7 separate regions of the Homo sapiens genome follow, and regions 1, 2, 3, 4, 5 and 7 are each linked to region 6. Evidence: promoter capture Hi-C in 16 types of primary human blood cells and fetal thymus (Javierre and others, 2016). All regions are on one chromosome and are shown on one strand. Each heading gives the region's core, a stretch centred on a gene start or on the middle of the fragment in contact. The rest is flanking DNA. Distances are from core to core; before and after follow the strand shown. Region 1 overlaps HERC1 (HECT and RLD domain containing E3 ubiquitin protein ligase family member 1). Region 2 overlaps HERC1 (HECT and RLD domain containing E3 ubiquitin protein ligase family member 1). Region 3 overlaps USP3 (ubiquitin specific peptidase 3). Region 4 holds the start of USP3-AS1 (USP3 antisense RNA 1). Region 5 overlaps HERC1 (HECT and RLD domain containing E3 ubiquitin protein ligase family member 1). Region 6 holds the start of DAPK2 (death associated protein kinase 2). Region 7 overlaps HERC1 (HECT and RLD domain containing E3 ubiquitin protein ligase family member 1).

Region 1 (3,166 bases), core at 560-3,059, 380 kb before region 6:
AAAATCTACAAGTGGCCAGTATAGACTTCTGCACCCAGGGAAACTTAAAAATAAGCCTATGAATGTATGCTACGATTTAAATAAAATTATGTAAATGCATAGAAAATGATATCCAAATAGCTGTTCTGTTAATGTGGAGGGACTGAGCACTTAGTATCATTAGTTTGAATCTTCTTTAATGTGCCTTTACATTGCTTTCAAAATAAGATCTTTCACAAAGAAAAGGATACGGAACATAAAATTACCTGCTCTTGCTAGCAGTGTGCGAGCAGCTAAGTCAAACTTGTGTCTTCTTGTTACCGCTGAGCGACCTCTAGCTGATGGTCCACTTCCAGAAGCTGCATTCTCTGTATGATCCAAATTATCAGGGCTACAAGTGCAAGTGAGAAAGCAACACAAAGTTTTTGAAACCATTATGGAAAGAAAGCATAGGTGTAAGCTTACTTGTAGTACTACTTTATTCTCATTGAGAATAAAATATGTTTATGATAAAATTTGAAACACATCTTTATCCCTTGAACAGTTCAATTATGCATATAACATTTCCTGTGACCTGAGCAATAACTTTGTCTGATTTTGAATTCTTCCAACAACAAAATGATGTTTAATGAAGCTCAAATTTAAATGAGATCAAATATGACCTTAACTAAATCCTAAAAGATTAAATACTTAAAATTTGAAATGATTGAGAATTCTTGCCTAGGAAAAACAGGTATTTTGAAATACGTTATGAAAATATTCACTGAGCTTGTTGGAAAAAGCTTGCATGCCATCTAGGACACAAGCCTTGGTTACTATATGGCTCCATAGTTAAAATGAAAAATAAAGATTTAAAGTCATAAGAAGTGATGAAGGAAAAAAGATTTTAGGGAGAATTTGTAAGATATTCTATACATCTCATTTTAGGATAGGCATTATCACAGCAATCTTTTTACACTTAAAGGGGCATCTTCTACTAGATATTAAAAACTATAGAAGAGATGAAAATATAAATATTACACAGAGAAGACTTAAAAGTTCAATTCTAGGCCAGGAACGGTGGCTCATGCCTGTAATCCCAGCACTTTGGAAGACCAAGGTGGGTGGATCACGAAGTCTGGAGTTCGAGACCGTCCTGGCCAACATGGTGAAACCCTGTCTCTACTAAAAATACAAAAAATGAGCCGGGCATGGTGGCACATGCCTATAGTCCCAGCTACTTGGGAGGCTGAGGCAGGGAACTGCTTGAACCGGGGAGGCGGAGGTTGCTGCAGTGAGCCGATATCGCGCCACTGCACTCCAGCCTGGCGACAGAGCGAGACTCCGTCTCAGAAAAAAAAAAGTTCAATTCTATCAAATACATTAAATCAATGTCCAATATTAAAATGAATACTCGATTTTATATCACTTGTACGAGATAAAATTATTTTATTAGCATGTTTACTTCAAAATAAACTTGTTTCCTTTTTCAGTACAATTTTACACAAAAATTATGAAATTTCTTCTGGCATGAAAACACCTACTCAAATCAAAACTTGTCATGTCACTTTTACCCTTCACAGAAATATAAACTTGTAACTAAAATGCCCATCTTTTCATATAACTATATTTATCAACTTTACATACAATTAGAAGCATTTATGACGGGATATATAATAAATGGGGCTTTGAAATTTATAACACATGGAACAAAAGTACAGAAACTGGAATTTCACCTTTCACTAAAACCTTCCTCCATTTCAGCAGCATCAGCTGATGGTATGTCTCCAGGTGACTGCAAATAACAGGGATCATTTGACTTCCCGCCACTGCCTAGAACGGCTGCTCCAGGCCTAGAGTCTGCTGTGCTGCCCGACTGGGGCTCCTCTTCATCCTCATGCCCAGGGTGCTCTATCATCCACATGGCAAGGACAGTGATATTCTGGGCATCAGCCTCTCCCCTAGCACCTATACAGGGGAAAAACAGTCTGATGCTGACTTTGGGCAAAGAATTAGGTCTTTATGTTATAAGAGTGTTTGCTATGATGCTCTTGTAACAAAATATAGTGTTAAAAATCTTACCAAGTTTCATAGCCTCTTAAAAGTTATGTTGTCTTTAATAAGCTAGGACTTCTCATATCTGTATACACTGATATATAAAAACTTATCCTACCTGTAGCTTCCATGGCTTTGGCAATCTGCCGAAGAGAGAACCCCATTTCCAGCAAGGGAACTGCAATTGCTGGAGGAGGAGGAGAAGTTGAAAGTCTACTGCTTGGGTCTGACAAGGCTGAGACAAAAGGAAGAGAAATAAGAACCTAAATATCACTAGATACCGTGAGTAAAAAGTGTCTTCATAGTCCTCAATTTCCTAGTATTGTCCAAGTTTAATGAAATTTTCCTCTACTCAGAATATGTGGCTGGGCACTGTGGCTCACACCTGTAATCCCAGTTTTACTAACATCCATTTATGTTATACTTTGTAAAGATTTGTGTAGAGGTACTATAAGAGTATGTAAATAACCCACTCCTCATCCAAGTTCCATATTTGTAAATCTGTATACTCAATAAAATTTATTTGTAATCTCAAAATCAATACTCATGTACTTTTGTAGTCATTTGTGACATATGCAGAGGGACTAAAAAGTTTAGTCCCTCAACATATGTGTTCACAGCTGAGGTCCAACAAGGTGATGCTCTGCCTTCATGTTTCAGCTCTCATGTGAAAAACAAGTGTCCTTTTCATAGTCTATTTAGTGCTACATTCTTCGCATTTTTATGCTTTTGGTCGGTGATTTCCCTGATTAAAATGGCCCCAAGCATAGTGCTAAAGTGCTGTCTAGTGTTTCTAAGCACAAGGATGCTGTAATGTGCCTTATGAAGAAAATACATATGTTAGATAAGCTTCATTCATGATGAGCTATAGTGTTGGTGGCCATAAGCTCAATGTTAGTGAATAAACAGTATGTATTAAATGTGGTATCTTTAAACAGAAAGATGCACAAAACAAGATTATACAGCATACTGATCAGATGATGGAAATGTAACTAGAAGTTCACAGGAACTTAACCCTGTATTTCTCCTAGGAGCAATGGTTCAGTATTTGCTAATTCAGTGTTCATAATAACCTTTTAGAACATAACTATTGCTAATAATGAGAATCAACTATTATTCCATGTATTCAGTAAGTTAGAGGAAAGATTGAGCA
Region 2 (2,957 bases), core at 91-2,590, 360 kb before region 6:
TTGTCATTTAATTTCGTACTTTGATACAAGATAAATGGTGGGGTTGAAGAGATAATGAGAAGAAAGTGGCTGAAACATGCAGATTACTCTTCTAAGAAGCTTAGTACTACAGGACAAGAGAGAAGACAGAGAAGACTTCACAGATAAAAATGTGATTTAGGAGAGAGGAAATGAGTTAAGCATGGTTATAAGCTGAGGGGAGGGAATCAGTGGAAAGGGAGACAGAATGCCAAGAGAGGAAATGGAATAAATGATAGAGCAAGGTGCCTCAGAGGAACAGGCATTCAGAGACAAGTGACAGAATATTCACTTATGCTGTTAAGAAATACCTTTTAGGAAAAACCAATTACCTGTAGTTTTATTTCTTGTTCTTTTTCCTTTATCTGAATAGCATGTTTGGCCTGAGCAATGGGTGTCTCCCACATACAATCAGAGAGAAGGGAAAATAAGCGCTCAACAATCTGTTTTATTGAAGAAAAAAGGATAAAATTTGTAAAAAGTAACTTTAAGTATTTTTAGAAAAGCTGTATCATGTTAACTGTAATATTAACTCGCATGCGAAGTTTGATTATACCAGTGTTCAACAGCTACTTTTAGTGGTTATAAGTTAAATATCAGTTTTTAGAAATATTAACCCATTAGAAGCCAGGCACGGTGGCTCATGCCTGTAATCCCAGCACTTTGGGAGGCTGAGGCGGGTGGATTGCCTGAGGTTGGGAGTTTGAGACCAGCCTGGCCAACATGGTGAAACCCCATCTCTACTAAAAATACAAAAATTAGCCAGGCATGGTAGCATGTGCCTATAGTCCCAGCTACTTGGAGGCTAAGGCAGGAGAATCACTTGAACCCAGGAGGCGGAGGCTGCAGTGAGCTGAGATCGCGCCACTGCACTCACTCCAGGCTGGGCGACAGAGCGAGACTCCATCTCAAAAAAAAAAAAAAAAAAAGAAATATTAACCTATTAGAAAGTGGGTCCCATTTTGCCTTACTATTTAGACCTCTGATTAGGACACTCCCACATGTTTCTTCCTATAGCGGTCCAAACCTAGTAAGAAATTCCAGATTTTTCTTTCCTTCTGACCTTGCAGAGTATTCTCTATCCCTCTACTTCTCACACCCCATAACTTAATTTTTTTTGCCCTCTCCTTGGGGGTGAAATAATAAAGAAAGCAGTCCTAAAAGTAAACGTTATGCTATTGAATAAAAGACACATTTACAACTGAAGAGACTGTTAAGTACAGATTTGGGTGAATCATTTTGCAAATATGGAAAACATCTTCTAATAATTTTAAAAATAAAAACCTGGGCCATTTGATCATCTTCTACACCAGATTCACAAGCTGGCAGCACAGCTTCAAGGACATGAAGTGCAAGGAGCCTTGTTCTTAAGTTACCAACCAGAGGGATACCTGGAGGGGAAAAGACCTTTTCTTATTATCAATGTGACTTAAATTCAAAGTTAAAATGAACTTCTGGGAAAAAAATTCCTGAGGCTGCTAAACATTTATGGGTGGAACAAACTTGATTTCAAACTATTATCGCAAGAATTCTGGATCCATCCTGTACCCATGAATGCGTATGAATACATTCATGCTTATGCCTCAGTTTTTATGTATACATAATGGGAAGAGCATTGTAAAAAAGTATCTGTGCCAGATACTATGCTATGCTACACATTTCACACACATACATTCTATTAATCCTCACAAACTGAATTACAGCCCCATTTTACTGTTGAGAAAAATGAGGCTCAGAGAAGTTATGTAACTTGACCAAAGCCACACAAGCTCATAGAGGTAGAGTTTTAAACAGGTCTGTTAATCTCCAAAGCTCATGCTTATTATTCCCTCTCATTGCCTCTCTCCGTCCATGCACTGACTGTCTCACAGGGATTGTTAGGGTTAACCGGGAGTAAACAGACTATACTTTTCTAAAGTAAGCCAACAGCCGGGCATGGTGACCCATGCCTGTAATCCCAGCACTTTGGGAGGCTGAGGCGGGCAGATCACTTAAGGCCAGGAGTTCAAGACCAGCCTGGCCAACATGGTGAAACCCTGCCTTTACTAAAAATACAAAAATTAGCTGGGAGTGGTGGTGCACGCCTGTGATCCCAGCTACTTGGGAGGCTGAGACGGGAGGATCACTTGAGCCTGGAAGTGAGAGGTTGCAGTGAGTTGAGATCACACCACTGCACTCCAGCCTGGGCGACACAGAGAGCCTCTGTCTCAAAATAATAAAAAATAAATAAATAAATGAAGTAATCCAAGGTAGAAAATAGGATACTGATACATAAATATGTAATTAAAAAATACATATAACTGTAATAAGATCAGTTGAAAATAAATGAATATCTGATTTTTCTTTATCCTCTTGAAACTTAATATAAGCCTTACCTTATTAAAGGAAAAAAAAAGGAGCAGTTGTAAGTTATACTAATTAAGAAAAAAAGTATATTGAGCGTGTAAACATATAAAATACCATGTGCCGTAGAGGATTACATTATGTTTTGGCATACTTAGATTAGAGATTATGAAAAAAAGTTCTGGAAATGGATGGCAGTGATTGTTGTATAATACTGTGAATAAGCTTAATGTCACTAAATTGTATATTTAAATGATTAAAATGGCAAATTTCACGTTACGTGCATTTTACCACAATTTTAGCAAAAGAGAACAGGAAAGGACTGACTGTAATCTATGTAAGCAGACATTTTAGGGTAAGGACCAGGGATTAAGCTTATTCTATAGAACTGTGATAAATATCAAACAATCAGAAGTCACAATCAAGGCAACAGAAATCACATTATGATAAGAGAGACTGTACAAATTCAGATCTGCATCCTGATAATCCAAGAAGCAAGGTCGGAATCTGTGCTAAAATATCGTATTAAACAGGATGTTCTCTGCTTACTCTTAGGTTTGTAATCTGAACAAAGAGGATGAAGTTCTCTAGATAAA
Region 3 (3,118 bases), core at 479-2,978, 460 kb before region 6:
TGGATAGCTAGTAGACTCTTTTTGAGATGGAGTCTTGCTCTGTCACCCAGGCTGGAGTGCAGTGGCACAATCTTGGCTCACTGCAACCTCCACTTCCCAGGTTCAAGCGATTCTCCTGCCTCAGCCTCCCGAGTAGCTGGGATTGCAGGCACGAGCCACCATGCCCAGCTAATTTTTGTACTTAATAGAGATGGGGTTCACCATGTTGGCCAGGCTGGTCTCAGACTCCTGACCTCGAGTGATCTGCCTGCCTCGGCCTCCCAAAATGCTGGGATGACAGGCGTGAGCCACCGTGCCTGGCTGCTAATAGACTCTTTACAGGCCATATAATTCACTTCCACATGTGAGCTCTGAGGTGAAATTCACACTCATGCTGCTGCAAAATATTAAACTGAGGTACATTTCAGGGTCATTCAGGCTTTTCAAATAGTTAAAATAGCAGTTGCCAAATCTGTGAATGTTAAGGGTATGTTGTATCTAGATAGTCTTCCCCTTAAAGAAATATATTTCCATGTGTTTATATGTATGTTTGTGTTGGTTTTTGTGTGTGTGTGTGTGTGTGTGTGTGTGTGTGTGTGTGTGTGTGTGTGTGTGTGTTTAGATGGAGTCTTGCTCTGTTGCCCAGGCTAGAGTGCAGCGGTGCAATCTTGGCTCACTGCAACCTCTGCCTCCGGGTTCAAGCGATTCTTCTGCCTAAGCCTCCTGAGTAGCTGGGACTACAGGTGTGCAGCCACCACACCCGGCTAATTTTTTTTTTTTTTTTTTTTTTGGATTTTTGGTATAGACAGGGTTTCACCATATTGGTCTGGTCTCAAACTCCTGACCTCATGATCCACCTGCCTCGGCCTCCCAAAGTGCTGGGATTACAGGTGTGAGCCACTGTGCCCGGCCCATATGTTTGTTTTTTAAAAGACAGGGTCTCACTCTGTTGCCCAGGCTAGAGTGCAGTGGTGGGATCATGGCTCACTGCAGCTTCAACCTCTTAGTCTGAGGTGATCCTCCCACCTCAGTCTCCTGGGACTACAGGCACATGCTGCAATGCTTGTGTTTTTTGTATTTTTTGTAGACACAGGGTTTCACCCTTTTGCCCAGGCTGGTCTTGAATTCCTAGGCTCAAATGATCCTCCACCTCAGCCTCCCAAAGTGCTGGGATTACAGGCGTGAGCCACTATGCCTGGCCTGTATGTTTTAATAATGGTTTTCTTTATACATATGTTTATTGAAGAATTTGGAGAAAACTCAAAAAAGTAAAAAGAGGAACATATACATCCCTTATAAGCTTATCATTCAGACATACTGTAGTTCAGAAATTTTATGTTTAGAAACTGTGATTTAAAAGTTGATTTTTAGGGCCGGGTATGGTGGCTCATGTCTGTGATCCCAGCACTCTGGGAGGCTAAGGATTACAAATAGGCATTAGGTTTCTGGGGATGCTCAGGTAACTTTTTAAAACCCATGAAGAGATGACAGTGGTAGTGGAGATTGTTCTCTACTAATCCAACTAGGGTTTACTATAATAGCACTTTCTTAGGGGAACTCCCCAGGAGGCCCTACTGGGCACACCAGTCTCCTTACCTTCTGCTTTGGCTGTGATCCTGAGGATGTCCCCACCTCTTGGCAGGCAGTACCAAAAGGGAGAACAGAGAGGGGTTCTCAAGGCAGTTAGGGCCACCATTTTTTAAACTGAGGGTTTGAAAAACCAGGCTCAGCTTATATTGCCTCTTTATGAATCATCTTATGGGCCTGACCTGATCATGTCTATTCCTTTTTGGTATCTCATGTGGTCTTAGAAGAAAAGGACTAACTTTCCATTATCTTGTGCATAAATCAGCAGGGAGACCACTACATGGTCACCTTGTAAGTTTAAGCAACTCAAAAAGGCAGGGAGGAAGAAAATGTTGGAAAGCAAGAAGATGCTGGAAGATGCTGGGAGAAGGCATAAAGAGCCTCCTTTGCATTGGAGAGAAGATGAGGACAGGAAGGAAGGCTGCGAGAGGTGCTTTGGTTTCAGAAAAGGAGCAGGGTGATGGCAGGGGCTTTGCCTGGCAGGTAGAAGGAACAAGAGAGCAGTCTAGTATTTATGTGCATTTCACATAAATGCAGATGAGTTACTGTGAAATGTTGATAGATTCTTTCAGTAATCTCAGTGCTCCTCAGGGTATCAAATTCCTGAAATTAAAGCTTCTAAACAGTTACTAAAGGAGATTTAGAATACCACCTGCCAACTCAGTAGTAGCCCTCTGAATGACCCCATGCTTCCACACACGGGGAGACCCCTTCAGAAAGTGGGTCTGTACAGGTTAAATATAGGGGGGGGAAAAAGGCTTCTCTGCTGTTGAGGCATTTCTGCTTCTCAGTGTTGTGTGGCTAGGTAGCACAGGCAACAATGTCTTGCTGGTGAATCATAAACCATCTGGCTAATGGGATGGAGAGGCTGGAGTGACAGTATTTCAGAGTCATACTCTCCCTGCCTTCTTATTTGCCTGTGAAAGTTTCAAGCAGACATTGTCAATTAAAAAAAATGAGCTAGGCACAGTGTGGCTCATGCCTGTAATCTCAGCTACTGGGGAGGATTGCTTGAGCCCAGGAGTTTGAGGCTTCAGTGAGCTATTTTATACTCCAGCCTGCATGACAGAGGAAGAAGACCTTGTCTCTTAAAACAATTTTTTAAAAAATTGTGGTAAAATATACATAGAATAAAATGTAACATTTTAAGTGTCTTAAGTGTGTAATTCAGTGGCATTAAGCACACCCAAAATATTATACAACCATTACTACTTGTAAAAATTTTTGTCATCCTAAACAGAAACTCTGTACCCATTAAACAGTAACTCATTACTTTTCCTCTCTTGTTCCCAGTAACTCTTATTGTATCCTCTATGAATTTGTCTATTCTAGGCACCTCATATAAGTGGAATCATACTATATTTATCCTTTTGTGATTGGCTTAACTTAGTGTATATTCAGGGGTCATCCATGTTGTAAGCATGTCTCAGAATTTACTTCCTTTTTGAGGCTTAATATTCTCTGGTATGTATAGACTACATTCTGTTTATCCATTCATCTGTTGACGACACTTGGGTTTTTCCCACCTTTTGGCTATTATAAATAATGCTGC
Region 4 (2,872 bases), core at 46-2,545, 450 kb before region 6:
CCCCTGGCACAAAGGAGCCGAGCTGGCACAGCCAGGGGCAGTCACGGAGCTGCGGGGGAGGCTGGCAGGGAAAGGGAAACGCTTCCCCAGCCCAGACTCTAGCTCCCTCTGGCTGCGGGGAGCCAAGGCCCCGGCCCATTAGTCGGTCCTTCTGGACTGGAAGCAGGCTGGTCCCGTTTGTTTCCAGGGAAAGCGGGTTAGGACTGCCTGTGGAAGGCCCCGTTGCAGGCTCCTCACAACCCCAGTGGTAGACATTATTCCCCCCACGCAGAGGAAATGAAGGCTCCGTGAGTGACTGACACGGCGATAAACCAAGTCTAACTTGGCTCAAGATCTTTTCTTTGCTGGGAGGGGCTGGTGAGGCTGCAGCAGAGGGTCCCCCAAGCTTTCTGGCCAAGCGACCTGGGTGGGTGTCCGTGACTGTACCTGCTCAGGGCTTGCCTCTAGCTGCCTCCGAACCCTACCCTTTTCCAGGCTGGTGGCCCAGGGGATGCAGGAACAGCTCTAGTCTACTAAGCTGAACCCGGACTCAATGCTAACGCGTGCCCCCACCGCCTTGAGGGTTGGGATGGGCCTGTCACTAGGCCACCTCCAAGGAAACAAATCCCTCTTCCCACTCACGTCCCGCCGGGACATTCAGGGGCCTCAGCTTGAAGCTAGACTGGAGCAATCGCCAAGCACCGCTCCCCTGCAAGGCAGCACATCCAGAGCGAAACAAAGAGTCAAGGGTTGTGGCTCCTGGAACCGGCATTCCCTCTGTCCACAGCCGCCCCAGGACTCTGCTGGGCCGGGGTCGGGGCTTCCCACTAGGGGCTCCCAAGGCTACGAGCCAAGAACCCACGCAGATGAAGGTACGGTGGGGTGCAGGGGCAGAAAGAGGAGGGAAAATGGGCCGGCCAGAAAGCCGACTTGGAACCCTGCAGTGTCATCGCAGCCAAGTGTCTTCACCTCGCAGGGCCCGAGTCCTCCTCGGTAAATGAGTCCACTCGGTCCCATGGGGCGGTTGGGTAGCTTTAACAAGCCAGTGAGCCCCGGGTCACCGCACTCTCCTCACAGGTGCCCCAACCTGGCGTCCGTCACGCTCTCGGGCTGCGGCCACGTTACCGACGACTGCCTGGCGCGCCTGCTGCGCTGCTGCCCACGCCTGCGCGCACTGCGCCTGGAGAACTGCGCGCGCGTCACCAACCGCACGTTGGCTGCCGTGGCGGCGGACGGGCGCGCGCTGCAGACATTGCACGTGGACTTCTGCCGCAACGTGAGCGCGGCCGGCCTGCGCCGCCTGCGCGCCGCGTGCCCGCGCCTGGCCCTGCGGGCAGAGCACAGCGCCGCCATGCTGCCCGACCAGCCCCCGCGCCCGCGCGCGCCCGCCGCGGCCCTCGGCAAGCTGCTGCAGCGCTAGACGCCGCCCCGCCGCTGCCCCCGGGGAAGGAGCGCAGCCCCAGACCGTCCTGGCTTCGAACCCAGCTCTTCCACCTTCAGACCACCACCGCATATTCTGAGCCTCATTTTCCCCGTCTGCACAGTGGGGATAAGAAAGCCTACCTCACGTTACGATTTTATACATAGGATAAACGCAAGATTAAATGGATATTTGGAAAACACTCGGCTGGTTCTCACTCAACACCACCGCCTTTCCCCTCTTGCTTCCGCCCCAGGCTTTCTGCTGTGCGCTCCCCACGGAGGCGGGAGGCGCCTGCACCGTCCTCGGGGACTCCGATCGCCGTTGGACCGAAATCACCTCGGTGGGGAGGACCTGACCACTCGGAGTTCGCCGACTTGCGCTCGGGGGTGACGGGGGCCAGGGCTGCCGCGCGCAGGGGTCTGGGGAGCCTCCGGGCGGAGCGACCCAGCGAGACCCCGCCGGCTCCCGGAGTGTCCTGGGGACCGCCACCTCCAGGAGCCCCGGTGGTGATCTCGGTGAAGCAGGAGGAGGGGAAGCAGGGGCGCACGGGCAGAAGGAGCCACCGAGCCGCTCCTCCTTGCGGTTTTGCCCGCACGCGCGTCTGCCCGCCCACCTTTCCTGGGGCGGATGCGTTCCCGCAGTGACCGCACTCGCGATTGTAGAAAATTCGCTCCCAATTGTTGAATGCTTACATAAACTGCATAGTTACCCATATTTTCTACTGTTCTCATAAGGGAAAAAGAAATGATTTGGAAGAAAAAAAAAGCCTCAAACTAAACAAAAACAAAACCAGCAGCCCTGGCTAAGCTTTTGATAATGGAACCATTATAAGCTGACAAGCTAGATTTTTCACCTGTTGGATTTGCTGGACATGAGCACAAGCCTAGGCTTCCAATTTGAATTTCAGGGCTGTAGTCACTGATGTGTCACATTTAGTGAAGGCTCTCGGCCCCCCGGCAGCCGCCTGGTCCTGGGTCACTGGGGAGAATTCTGGGTGGGTGGAAGAGGCGAGGAGCACTGTGATGGGCGCTGTTCACACTCCGGCTCCACCCAGCGCCAGCTGCGACAAAGCCCTTTACCCCTCCCAGGCCAGGTGTTTCTTCTGTGTGAAAGAGGAGCTTGATCCCTACTCACAGGTTCCTTAATTCATTGCTCAAATAGGGAAACGGCAAGGAAAAAGACAAATTCTGTTCTCATGAAGCTTACCTTCTAGTGGGGGAAGAGACAACAGGTAACTGGTATATAAGAGGGTAGAAGGGCCAGGTGCGGTGGCTCAATGCCTGTAATCCCAGCACTTTAGGAGGCCAAGATGGGCGATTCACGAGGTCAGGAGATCGAGACCATCCTGGCTAACAAGGTGAAACCCCCGTCTGTACTAAAAAAAAATACAAAAAATTAGCCGGGCGTGGTGGCGGGCACCTGTAGTCCCAGCTACTCAGGAGGCTGAGGCAGGAGAATGGCGTGAACCCG
Region 5 (3,025 bases), core at 401-2,900, 340 kb before region 6:
TGATCCTCCCACCTCAGCCTCCCGAGTAGCTGGGACAGGTGCACACCACAACACCCAGCTAATATATATATATATTTTTTATTTTTTTGTAAAGACAAGGTTTGGCATGTTCCCAGGCTGGTCTTGAACTGCTGGCTCGAACTCCTGGGCTCAAGCAATCCTCCCACCTCAGCCTCCCAAAGTGCTGGGGTTACAGGCATGAGCCACTGCGCCTGGCCCAATCTTTTTTAAAAATGGGTTTTTTTTTAGTCTTTTTAAAAATTTTCTAAAAACTAAGTGAACAACCAGAAAACCTAACAATCTTAACAATTAAATCTAAGCTCAATCCTCCTCCATTGATCTGTTGTCCCCATTTATAATTTTCCAGATATTTTAAATTGTATTACCAAATTTATTCTTCACAACACAGTTGAGGCAAGTACAACAGGCATTATTCTCCACTTCAAAGATAAAGAAACTGGAGCTCAGGAAGGTTAAATGTCTTGTACAGGTCAAAGTCCATGGTGAGTTTTAACCCTATTCTGAGTCAGATTTCATAGCTGATTTCCCAAAAGTACACCACTTTAATTTTACCCATCCTCCTTTCTATATTTTCATTTCAGTTGAAAGGAGTTATTAATCATTTACAATATGTAAAGCACTGTGTAGGAGATATCAGGGGCATTTAGGAAAAATAAAAACCAAAAAATCCTAGATTTCTAGTGGGTTTACTGGGAAGACATACTAATAATACATAAATAAGTCCAACATAAGACAAACGGTAAATTATCAGACATCCTAACAAACTGTCATGGGACAACTGGGAGAGTAAGGTAGCTGGGAAAGCTTTCTGGAAGAGGTAACATTTTAGACAGTCCTTCAGGGAAAGACAGGATATCAGCAAGGAAGCCTAGGAGAACTTTTAAGGCAAATAGTGCTTTAGCAAAGGCTCAAGAGGTATGCTTGGGGTCTGGCAGATGAACTACTATGGCAAAAATGCAGACCACTGCAGAAGAATACTGGTTCCAAAAGCAGGCAGGTGACACTTCCCAGAATCTTTGATTTCCGAGTAGGCAGTGCAGTCACTCCTAGATTTGATCAGTCTGTAATTTGGACTTGCGTGGACTAGCCATCTCTCTGCAGTAAGACAAGATGTTTGAGTAGGAAAGTAGCACAATCAGCAGGTAGGTGTTTTGTTGTTGTTATGTGTGTTTCCAAGAGTTCTAATTTGGAAAGAAGTGTCTAAGGAGCAAAACTGGAAAAAGTAGGGGGACCAGTTTGAAAATACCTACTCCAGAAACAGGTAATAGGGCACTTCAATTAAAGAAAGGAAAAAACCAAATGCATGTGGAAATTTTGCCAAAATAGATTAGACAGTTATTTATAAATTTAAAAATAATTTCCTGACTACCTACCACGTGCTATTATAGGTGCTTGGGATACAGAAGTGAATAAAACAGCAAAAAATTCCTGTCCTTAAAGAGCTTATATTCTAATGTAGACTAAGACTAACTGATCAATGAATAACTAAATTATACAGTAAGTGATCGGTGCCCCAGAAAAAACAAAGCAAGGCAAGGGGGACAGGAAGTGACTATTTGGAAAAGAAGGAAAATTGACATTTTAAATAGGGTGGTCAGCACAGGCTTCATGGAAAAAGTAACATCAGAATGAAGACTTGAAGAAAGAGAGGGAGTTAGCCATGCAGGCAATAGCATTCCAGTCCTAAGAAACAGCCAGTTAAGGCCCTAAAGGGAACTTGTGTTGCAGATTCACGCAACAGCTAAGAGTCCAGTGTGACAGAAGGAGAATCACTGAGGAGAGTAACAGAAGAGATCAGAGAGGTAGTGGGACCAGACCATGAAGAGCCTATAGACCCCTGTAAGGACTTAGACTTCTAGTCTGAGAAAAGGGAAGTCATTGCAGGACTCTGAGCAGAGAAACGACATGATCTATGTTTCAAAATTATTGCAGGGTTGGGAGCTGGGTGCAGTGGCTCACACCTGTAATCCCAACACTTTGGGAGGCTGAAGCAGGAGGATCACTTGAGGCCAGGAGTTTAAGATCAGCCTGGGCAACAGAGCAAGACATAAAAATTTAAAAAATTAGCCAGAAATGGTGGCACATGCCTGTAATCTCAGCTACTCGGGAGGCTGAGGCAGGAGGATTGCTTGAGCTCAGGAGTTCGAGGCTGCACTGAGCAGCCTGAACTCCAGCCTGAGTGACAGGGTAATATCCTGTCTCAAAAAAAAGGGAAATTATCACAGAGTTAGGAGACTAGATAATGAGTCAGATTGATCAGATTTAAAAAATTAACTGACAGAGAAATAAATGAGCACAGGAATCTCACTAGACTATAAGACTGGGAGTATGAAGTGGAAGCACAGAGATATTAATGCAGATGAAGGAGAAAAGGAGGAAGTATAAACAAAATGTCATGATACAATGAAACGTAAAGACACTGTTCAACTTTCCTTAGATGAGGAATCCTTTATGGAAGCTTTTTTAAAACAATAACTTATTCTTTATGTAGCACTTTATACTTTTTCAAAAATATTTTCCTATCCCTTCTCTCAGTTCATACAACAGAGGAATTTCAGAATTACACATGGAGCTTATAGATAAGTCCATCTCAAACGCTAGCATTTCTCTATGAGCTGTCACATGATATGACCAAGATCCCACCGCTCTTTAACAGTAGAATCGAGACCAGAAGCCAAGTCTGACACATCACCATATACACAACAGGCACTACCATCTTCGTATCACACAGTAAGACACTAAAGCCCAGGGAGGTCATAGCACATATAGAATCACACACAAGGCAGAGGAACAGCCAAATTGAAAACCTAGCTACCAATTAACTCCAAGTCCAAAGTTCCTCAAGTAGAAGCAATCTTCTAGATAGTTTTCGCTTTATATTTTACCAGTGACACTGTAGCATACCTTTACCTCACCTCCTTTTTATATAAATTAGCATCTTATTTATCTTTACCCTAAATGCCTGCAGTCCAGGTTCTGAGGCTTTTTTGATAGTTAACAGAGC
Region 6 (2,858 bases), core at 151-2,650:
TTGGGAAGCCTGCTTGTTCACCCCACAGCTAACAAATCGGGAGGCCTCAAGGAGGTGGGCAGGGTCAGTGCGGGTCTCATTCCTGCCAGCCAGGAACTTACCCCAGAGGAGCAGACCTCCAGCCACATCCACACACCCCTGACCCCTCTGCCCAAGTCTCCTCTGAAGGTGCTGAATCATCAGTGGTGCCACTTGAGGGTGCTCAAAAAACATCTTGGGAGATGAGCGGTTTGGGGAAGGACAGGGCTGTGAAGTTAGCTGTGAAGAGGCCAAGGCACCACGGCCTCTTAGGTCAACAGGACTCTCCCAGGAATATCTTCCACAGAGGCAGTTGGGAGTCGCAGTGTCAGAAACCAGAGTGGCTGCCCTCCACAGGATTCCAGGATACAAGATGTCAGGCGCTGTCCCTGCACCTGCCCGCTTGCCCCCGAGGCAGCCAGCTATGGTGCCCTCTCCTCCAGTGTGCACCACTGCCTTACCATTACCTGCACGGCCTCAACGAGGCTCACCTCTCTGGACCTTGTTTTCTCTTTTGTAAAGTAAGAATACCAATTTCCACCGTGCAGAGTTACGGTGAGGGTTAGCCAGACCTATGCAAGCCTTGGGACCTCCAAAATGCCTAGCCCAGAGTCCTAGTCAACTGTTGGCAACGCCCTTCCAAGCCGTTCCACCCCAACCTGCAGCACACCTGCTGGCCGCCCCCACGCCCATCCTAGCTCTACCCCAGGCCGGGGCGCCTGACGGCGGGGACCCCAGCTTCATTCAGCCCCAGAGGAAGCTCAGACATCTGAGCACCCTCCTCGCATCACATCCTTGTGCCAGGCGGGAGCAAGAGGTGAGAGAGTCAGCCCAAGCTGAGAAGACTTGGCCGGGAGCCGGGCGTGCTCTGCCCGTTCCAGGGGGCCTAACTCGATGGACGTCTGTCTCCCATCTCCCTGCTGGGTGCTTGGCTCTGCCCGCCGCCTCTACCCTGTCTCCCAGGTCAAAGTGCCAGGCTCCGGAGGGCGCCCCAGGGCAGCGGCGGGCAGCTCCCGCGCTCGGGTGCCGGCCACAATGCCCCGGGCCACGGCGTCAGGCATTGGGGCGGCGGGCCCGGGATCTGCGAGCGAGTGCCCCGGATCTCTTCGCCCCGCCAGCCCCAGACCCGGGCGCTGCTGCCGTCAGGCCGCGCGCCCCGTCCCGCCCATCGAGCCCGCAGACGGGTGCTACTCACGGCGGGAGGCTGAGCTGCCGCGGTCGCGGCCGCGGCAGGCGCGGCGGGAGCGGCGGGCGCGGCGGGCGCGGCGGGCGCGGCGGGCGCGGCGGGAACGGGGGACGCGGCGGGGTGCGCTGGGCTCGGCCCTGCAGTCCTCTCCTCCCAGAGCGCCCGGCACCCGCCCGCCGAGCAGCCTAGGAGCCGAGGGGGCGGAGCGGCCAGCCCCGTCCCAGGCGCCGGCTGGAGGCGCGCCCGGCTGCCCGGGACGGGGCTCGGGGCGCCCCCTGCTGGAGCCCCCTCCGGACAGTCCCGGGGCGAGAGCCCAGCTTCCCGGCCGGGTAGGGGACACCTCAGGGCTCCCAGACTCCCGGGAGAGCGGGGAGAGTCGGTAGCAAGACCCTCTGCGCGTCCCTACCGGCTCTACCGCGCACATGCTGCGTGGCCTTGGGCAAGTCGGCTACCCTCCCCCGGCCTTATCTGGAAATCGATTTGAATGAGCTTATACGTATGACATGGTCTGGCACAATCCTCAGAAAATGGTACTTGTGTGCTCCTCTCCCCACCATACACACCGTGAGCGAGGAAGCCCCACTGAGGAATAGGCCGTCTCCTCCCTCCCAGCCAGAGCGCTCCCTACACCGCAGACTCTCCTGGAAACCTCAAGCCCACAGCGTACAGCAAGGTGGGGGCTGCGATGAGAAGGGCCGCTCTGCTCCTCACTGCCCCCGACCCAGCCTGAGAGCGGCCTGCCCTCGTTTGCCCTTTGTCCTGGCACGGTTGCTGAGTGAAGCCCCCCTCTCACCATCACGCCTTCTCTAATAGAGGACTTGGGAATGGGTTCCTCTCTCTGCCCTCTGCCAAAAAATCCCTGAGGAAAAAAGGAATGAGAGTGAGGGGGTGAAGGGAGGAAGGAAGGGAAAACAGAACTTAAGCCAAGTTCATTTGTCTTATTTCAAAACAAGAGGCTGTTTAGAGGAAGCAAATGAGGACCCCTCCAACCCCTGGAATTTCCATCCCTAAGTCACCCATGGGGCTCCTCAAAAGGGCCTTAGATTCAGAGTCCTACCACCAGGTTCAAAGCCCTGCCCTGCCACTCCGCATGTGTGTTCTTGGGCATGGCTCTTTCTTCATCAGTAAAGTGGGAGAAACGCACCTTCCGGTAGCTCCTAATGAAGCTATGGTGGGGCTGAGATGAGATGGAGTGTGTAAGATGCACCTAGAGGACCTCTACCAGTGTGAGCACACACACACCCTTCAGCCTTTTGGACATTGGGACAAATACAGATGGACCCCACCCCCCAGCTGAGCAGTGCCTCCGGGTCCAGGACATCCTCGGCAAAGAGTTCCTTGTTTATAAACTTCACAATAATTCAGAACAGTGCAGCCAGCGAGCCTCCTCTCCTAAGAGCAGCATGATATATAGAGTAATATCCAAGACTAGAGGTGGTTTCTGATGTCAACGGACCTAAGGGAATGACACCCACTGGTGAAGTTTCACCAACATGAGAAGTCCCCCACCAAACTATCCCTAAACACCTCTTCCTCCATTTCCATTTACCTATCACTGGTGACAAACCATTACCAGCCTTGGTGGCACAGGACAACAGTTTCACTATGTTCATGCATTCTGAGGGACAGAAGTTCAGACAGCACAGTGTGTATG
Region 7 (3,203 bases), core at 387-2,886, 410 kb before region 6:
GTGTGAGCCACGGCGCCCGGCCCTCCCAAGTCTTATTCCTGTGCCCACCTGCCCTTTACATCACATGCCCCAGAGCTCTATTTTCTTCTTTTCTCATTCTATACTCTCTCTCTCTGGGTTTTTTAGATGATACGAATAAGGATTTAACTACTATCATTATGCAGCTAATGTCCTAAACCTACATCTTCATAATCAATCCTTCTGGAGTTCCAGATCTAAATTCTCAATAGCCTAGTGGACATTTCCACACATTTATTTAGGGCAAATGGGTCCATTCAACATAACTAAAACTAAATTCCTTACCCTTCCCCACAAACCAGCTCATGTCCTCAGTCAGAGGCATCGATGTTCTCCCACAACTAGAAACTTCAGTCATGGTTTACTTCCTCTTCCTCACACCTGTCTCACATATCCCTAAACAACTACCCTTGCCAAGAATCTCAGTCCTACTGTGAATGCCTGGGTTACGAACCTACTCAAGATTTGAACCCAGAGTGCCTATGAATTCCTCCAGTTCCTAAGATCTGCAGCCCCAGTCCCTAGAAGGGATGAAGAATGAGGCAGGACACAGAGGAGCTCTGATGGTCAAGGCAGTATTTGTGGCAGCATGTCAAGGGCAGTAGAAAAGAAGAGGGGACGGCCCTTGGCAGGGACTCTTCTAGCAAGAGTGCTGGCTCTGGCATAAGGGGTCTTAATGGGGAGGGGAGTTTGTCTTTATAATAAAGCACATGAAAGAGAAGTGGAAAATTATCTATACTGAAAGGAGGTCATAGTGACTACTCACCACCTAGAACAAAAAAAGGACTCAATTTAGAGCACATTCTGTAACACTGGAAGGCCAATGTTTATAATGATGTGTACCCAAGCAAATAAGCTGAAAAATGTCTTACCTTGACCAAAGGTATACACATGACCATCTTTGGTCAAAGCAACAGAAAACTGAGTTCCACAAGCAACCTTTTTTATTCCAATTCCACAAAGGACGTCAATTTTCTACAAAATAAAAGTGTAAGGCACACAACTTTAAGAAGAAAAAAAATCACTCTTGAATTTGCCTAATGGCATGTATCAAGAACTACCTTCCAACAAAAATACTAATTGTCACTTACCTGTTCGACCCAAATCCAAACCTGAAATGTTATTTTCTCCTACTGTTCTGCAAACTAACTGAATTTCAGGGAGGGAGTGTGCAGGGGCAGAGGCAGTTTGACTAAAGTCCCCAGGGCCCTGTGTGAAGCAGAAGCATTCCTCTGGGTAATAGAGACCAGGGAGAATTCCAGGACCTTTTAAAGAACACTAGAAGACCATGTTAGTTTAACATTTTAGCTTTTATGGGCGACAATAACTGCTTTATATGTTCCCCAGAGTCAGTTTTCCTGCCTCTCTGCATACGTAGCTTAATATTCACTAGTCTAGCTATCAGGATGTCACAGACTATAAATGGTGGTGAATCTGAATATAAGCTGAAGCTTTGTAAATCACACTGCTTGTGAAATACGTCAGGAAAACCCACATAAAACAATCACATAGAAGGACTTCTGTAGAGTCAAGAAATCTTCTATAGTATGAATAACAGCTTCTAATTTCTTTCTTCATGGACTCAGATTTCCTTTGTATTGTTTTCTTAAAAGGAGACGTGTACCTGTGTTAATTCAGTGGTAATAATAAGCAGAAATGGCAGCTGCATGCAGAGGGTTACAAAGGATTACTCATAGTTCCTTCCATGACATCCTGGAGATATGTTTCTAACTATTTCTTCCCTACATCAGAGGTCCTACAGTGTGAAACCCATTTTTGGAGACAGAAGCTTATCCTTGCAGAATTTTAAATCCAGTTTAGCTGGATTAATAGCTTATTTAAAATCAAGACCTAGCATGTGGGCATTCAAGAATGCACAACAGAAGCTTCTAAACTTCATTATGAACTACCAAAAGTACTAAAGGTAAATTATTTCCAACTAATAATAACTACTGACATAGATGAAAACTATTTATGTTGTCTGAAAACCTAGACTCAAGGCAGTACTGACCTGAGGTGAAGATTTTGCAGTGGAATTTCCTAAGCCTAGTTTTCCATAGTCTCCATCTCCAAAAGCCCACACCATGGAACCATCTGCTGACACTGCCAAAGTGTGGTTTAATCCACAGGCCACCTAAAGAAATAACAGCATTCCGTAAGGCAAATCACAAGACCTAAAACACACTCCCCCGTTTCTGGGACCCTTTTTCTCTACTTCAGTGAAAAACTTGGCTATGTTTCCAAATATCTACAATGGTTTCAGAGCATACTACAAATGTTAACCAAAGTAAGTCAACAAGAAATAATTCTTAATGTCCATATATAACTTTTTTCTTCAAAGTGAAATCCTTCAAATGTCTGTGGCTAAACCATAATCAGTATGAAAGATAGAGGAAAAGTATACATGACCCAAAAATATTCATTCATATCAAAAAGTATCTAAGGAATGATATAGAAAAAGCCAAAAATATTTCCTTGTTAAAGGACACTCTTGATGTATACAAGACAGAGATAATTACTACTTAGGAGCAGTAGCTACCAGTGATGTTGCAATTCAGCCATACAACTCAAGGATACCAGACAGGAGCTACTAGTATCTGTATTTTTTAAGGGTTTAATAGCAAGTGGTATTAGTATGTTATGGAGGGGGCTTTAAAAATATTCACGTCCTGAAATAAGGGTTACATTTGTTGGTTTGTCACATAAACAAACTTAAATTGACTTAAAATATGAATTTCACATTGGGAAACAGTTAAAATTATCAATTAGACCATAGCAAAATGTACATGAGGTTAGGTACAACTGGTGATCCTGATCTTCCTGAGGGTGTCTAAGCGAACACAGAAGAAATGAGAAACAATGATCAGCTAGAATATCTTATTGATTTATTCCATGCCTGTCCAATCTGATATCCCTCCAGTGCAGTCACTCTCTCTGGAAGTTTTTTGTTAGAGGTATTTCCAAGACCCAGACGACCATAGTCACCATTCCCAAAGGTGAACAGTTTGCCATCTGAAGTGACCACTGCTGAGTGCTTGAAGCCACAAGACATCTAAGACAGAACCAAGGAGAAAGAAAATTTTTAAGAAGGGAAACTAAGAAAAAAGTAAATCTGCCATTTTTGGTATTAATATAGCAATAAACTTTACATAAACTTCACTGAAAACTGGATCTTCAAAGACCAA

Evidence for each region. Contacts are between HindIII fragments. The CHiCAGO score rates a contact against its expected background, and 5 or more counts as called.
Region 1: a fragment that was not itself captured here is called in contact with the fragment with the promoter of DAPK2 in region 6 in 5 of 17 cell types (endothelial precursors, M1 macrophages, M0 macrophages and 2 more); the score reaches 6.5 in endothelial precursors.
Region 2: a fragment that was not itself captured here is called in contact with the fragment with the promoter of DAPK2 in region 6 in 8 of 17 cell types (erythroblasts, megakaryocytes, endothelial precursors and 5 more); the score reaches 7.6 in erythroblasts.
Region 3: a fragment that was not itself captured here is called in contact with the fragment with the promoter of DAPK2 in region 6 in 1 of 17 cell types (erythroblasts); the score reaches 5.1 in erythroblasts.
Region 4: a fragment that was not itself captured here is called in contact with the fragment with the promoter of DAPK2 in region 6 in 2 of 17 cell types (endothelial precursors and erythroblasts); the score reaches 5.6 in endothelial precursors.
Region 5: a fragment that was not itself captured here is called in contact with the fragment with the promoter of DAPK2 in region 6 in 9 of 17 cell types (endothelial precursors, megakaryocytes, M1 macrophages and 6 more); the score reaches 9.8 in endothelial precursors.
Region 7: a fragment that was not itself captured here is called in contact with the fragment with the promoter of DAPK2 in region 6 in 2 of 17 cell types (endothelial precursors and M2 macrophages); the score reaches 7.1 in endothelial precursors.

Annotation. Positions count from the first base shown.
Region 1 is chr15:63,664,225-63,667,390 of GRCh38, forward strand. It overlaps HERC1 (HECT and RLD domain containing E3 ubiquitin protein ligase family member 1), which reads right to left. Exons shown (of 78, transcript NM_003922.4): 41 at 2,132-2,248; 42 at 1,695-1,926; 43 at 246-370. Among named protein-coding and RNA genes, the nearest start is that of USP3-AS1, 65 kb to the left of the region's middle. RefSeq lists a silencer at 1,764-1,934. The HindIII fragment of the contact is 2,101 bases long and covers 760-2,860 here.
Region 2 is chr15:63,689,239-63,692,195 of GRCh38, forward strand. It overlaps HERC1 (HECT and RLD domain containing E3 ubiquitin protein ligase family member 1), which reads right to left. Exons shown (of 78, transcript NM_003922.4): 32 at 1,303-1,409; 33 at 351-461. Among named protein-coding and RNA genes, the nearest start is that of USP3-AS1, 90 kb to the left of the region's middle. The HindIII fragment of the contact is 2,487 bases long and covers 98-2,584 here.
Region 3 is chr15:63,580,804-63,583,921 of GRCh38, forward strand. All of the region lies in intron 11 of USP3 (ubiquitin specific peptidase 3), which reads left to right. Among named protein-coding and RNA genes, the nearest start is that of FBXL22, 15 kb to the right of the region's middle. The HindIII fragment of the contact is 902 bases long and covers 1,278-2,179 here.
Region 4 is chr15:63,599,641-63,602,512 of GRCh38, forward strand. FBXL22 (F-box and leucine rich repeat protein 22) reads left to right here. Exons shown (of 2, transcript NM_001367807.1): 2 at 1,057-1,601. The coding sequence ends at 1,399. USP3-AS1 (USP3 antisense RNA 1) reads right to left here and starts at 1,187. Exons shown (of 3, transcript NR_034080.1): 1 at 949-1,187. RefSeq lists enhancers at 304-1,021, 1,284-2,101 and silencers at 1,089-1,378, 1,799-1,928. The HindIII fragment of the contact is 1,824 bases long and covers 384-2,207 here.
Region 5 is chr15:63,709,092-63,712,116 of GRCh38, forward strand. All of the region lies in intron 24 of HERC1 (HECT and RLD domain containing E3 ubiquitin protein ligase family member 1), which reads right to left. Among named protein-coding and RNA genes, the nearest start is that of USP3-AS1, 110 kb to the left of the region's middle. The HindIII fragment of the contact is 1,654 bases long and covers 824-2,477 here.
Region 6 is chr15:64,045,085-64,047,942 of GRCh38, forward strand. DAPK2 (death associated protein kinase 2) reads right to left here and starts at 1,401. Exons shown (of 12, transcript NM_014326.5): 1 at 1,214-1,401. RefSeq lists silencers at 1,035-1,254, 1,285-1,344, 1,365-1,574. The HindIII fragment of the contact is 10,777 bases long and covers 1-2,858 here.
Region 7 is chr15:63,631,819-63,635,021 of GRCh38, forward strand. HERC1 (HECT and RLD domain containing E3 ubiquitin protein ligase family member 1) reads right to left here. Exons shown (of 78, transcript NM_003922.4): 66 at 2,915-3,070; 67 at 2,030-2,152; 68 at 891-993. Among named protein-coding and RNA genes, the nearest start is that of USP3-AS1, 33 kb to the left of the region's middle. The HindIII fragment of the contact is 338 bases long and covers 1,468-1,805 here.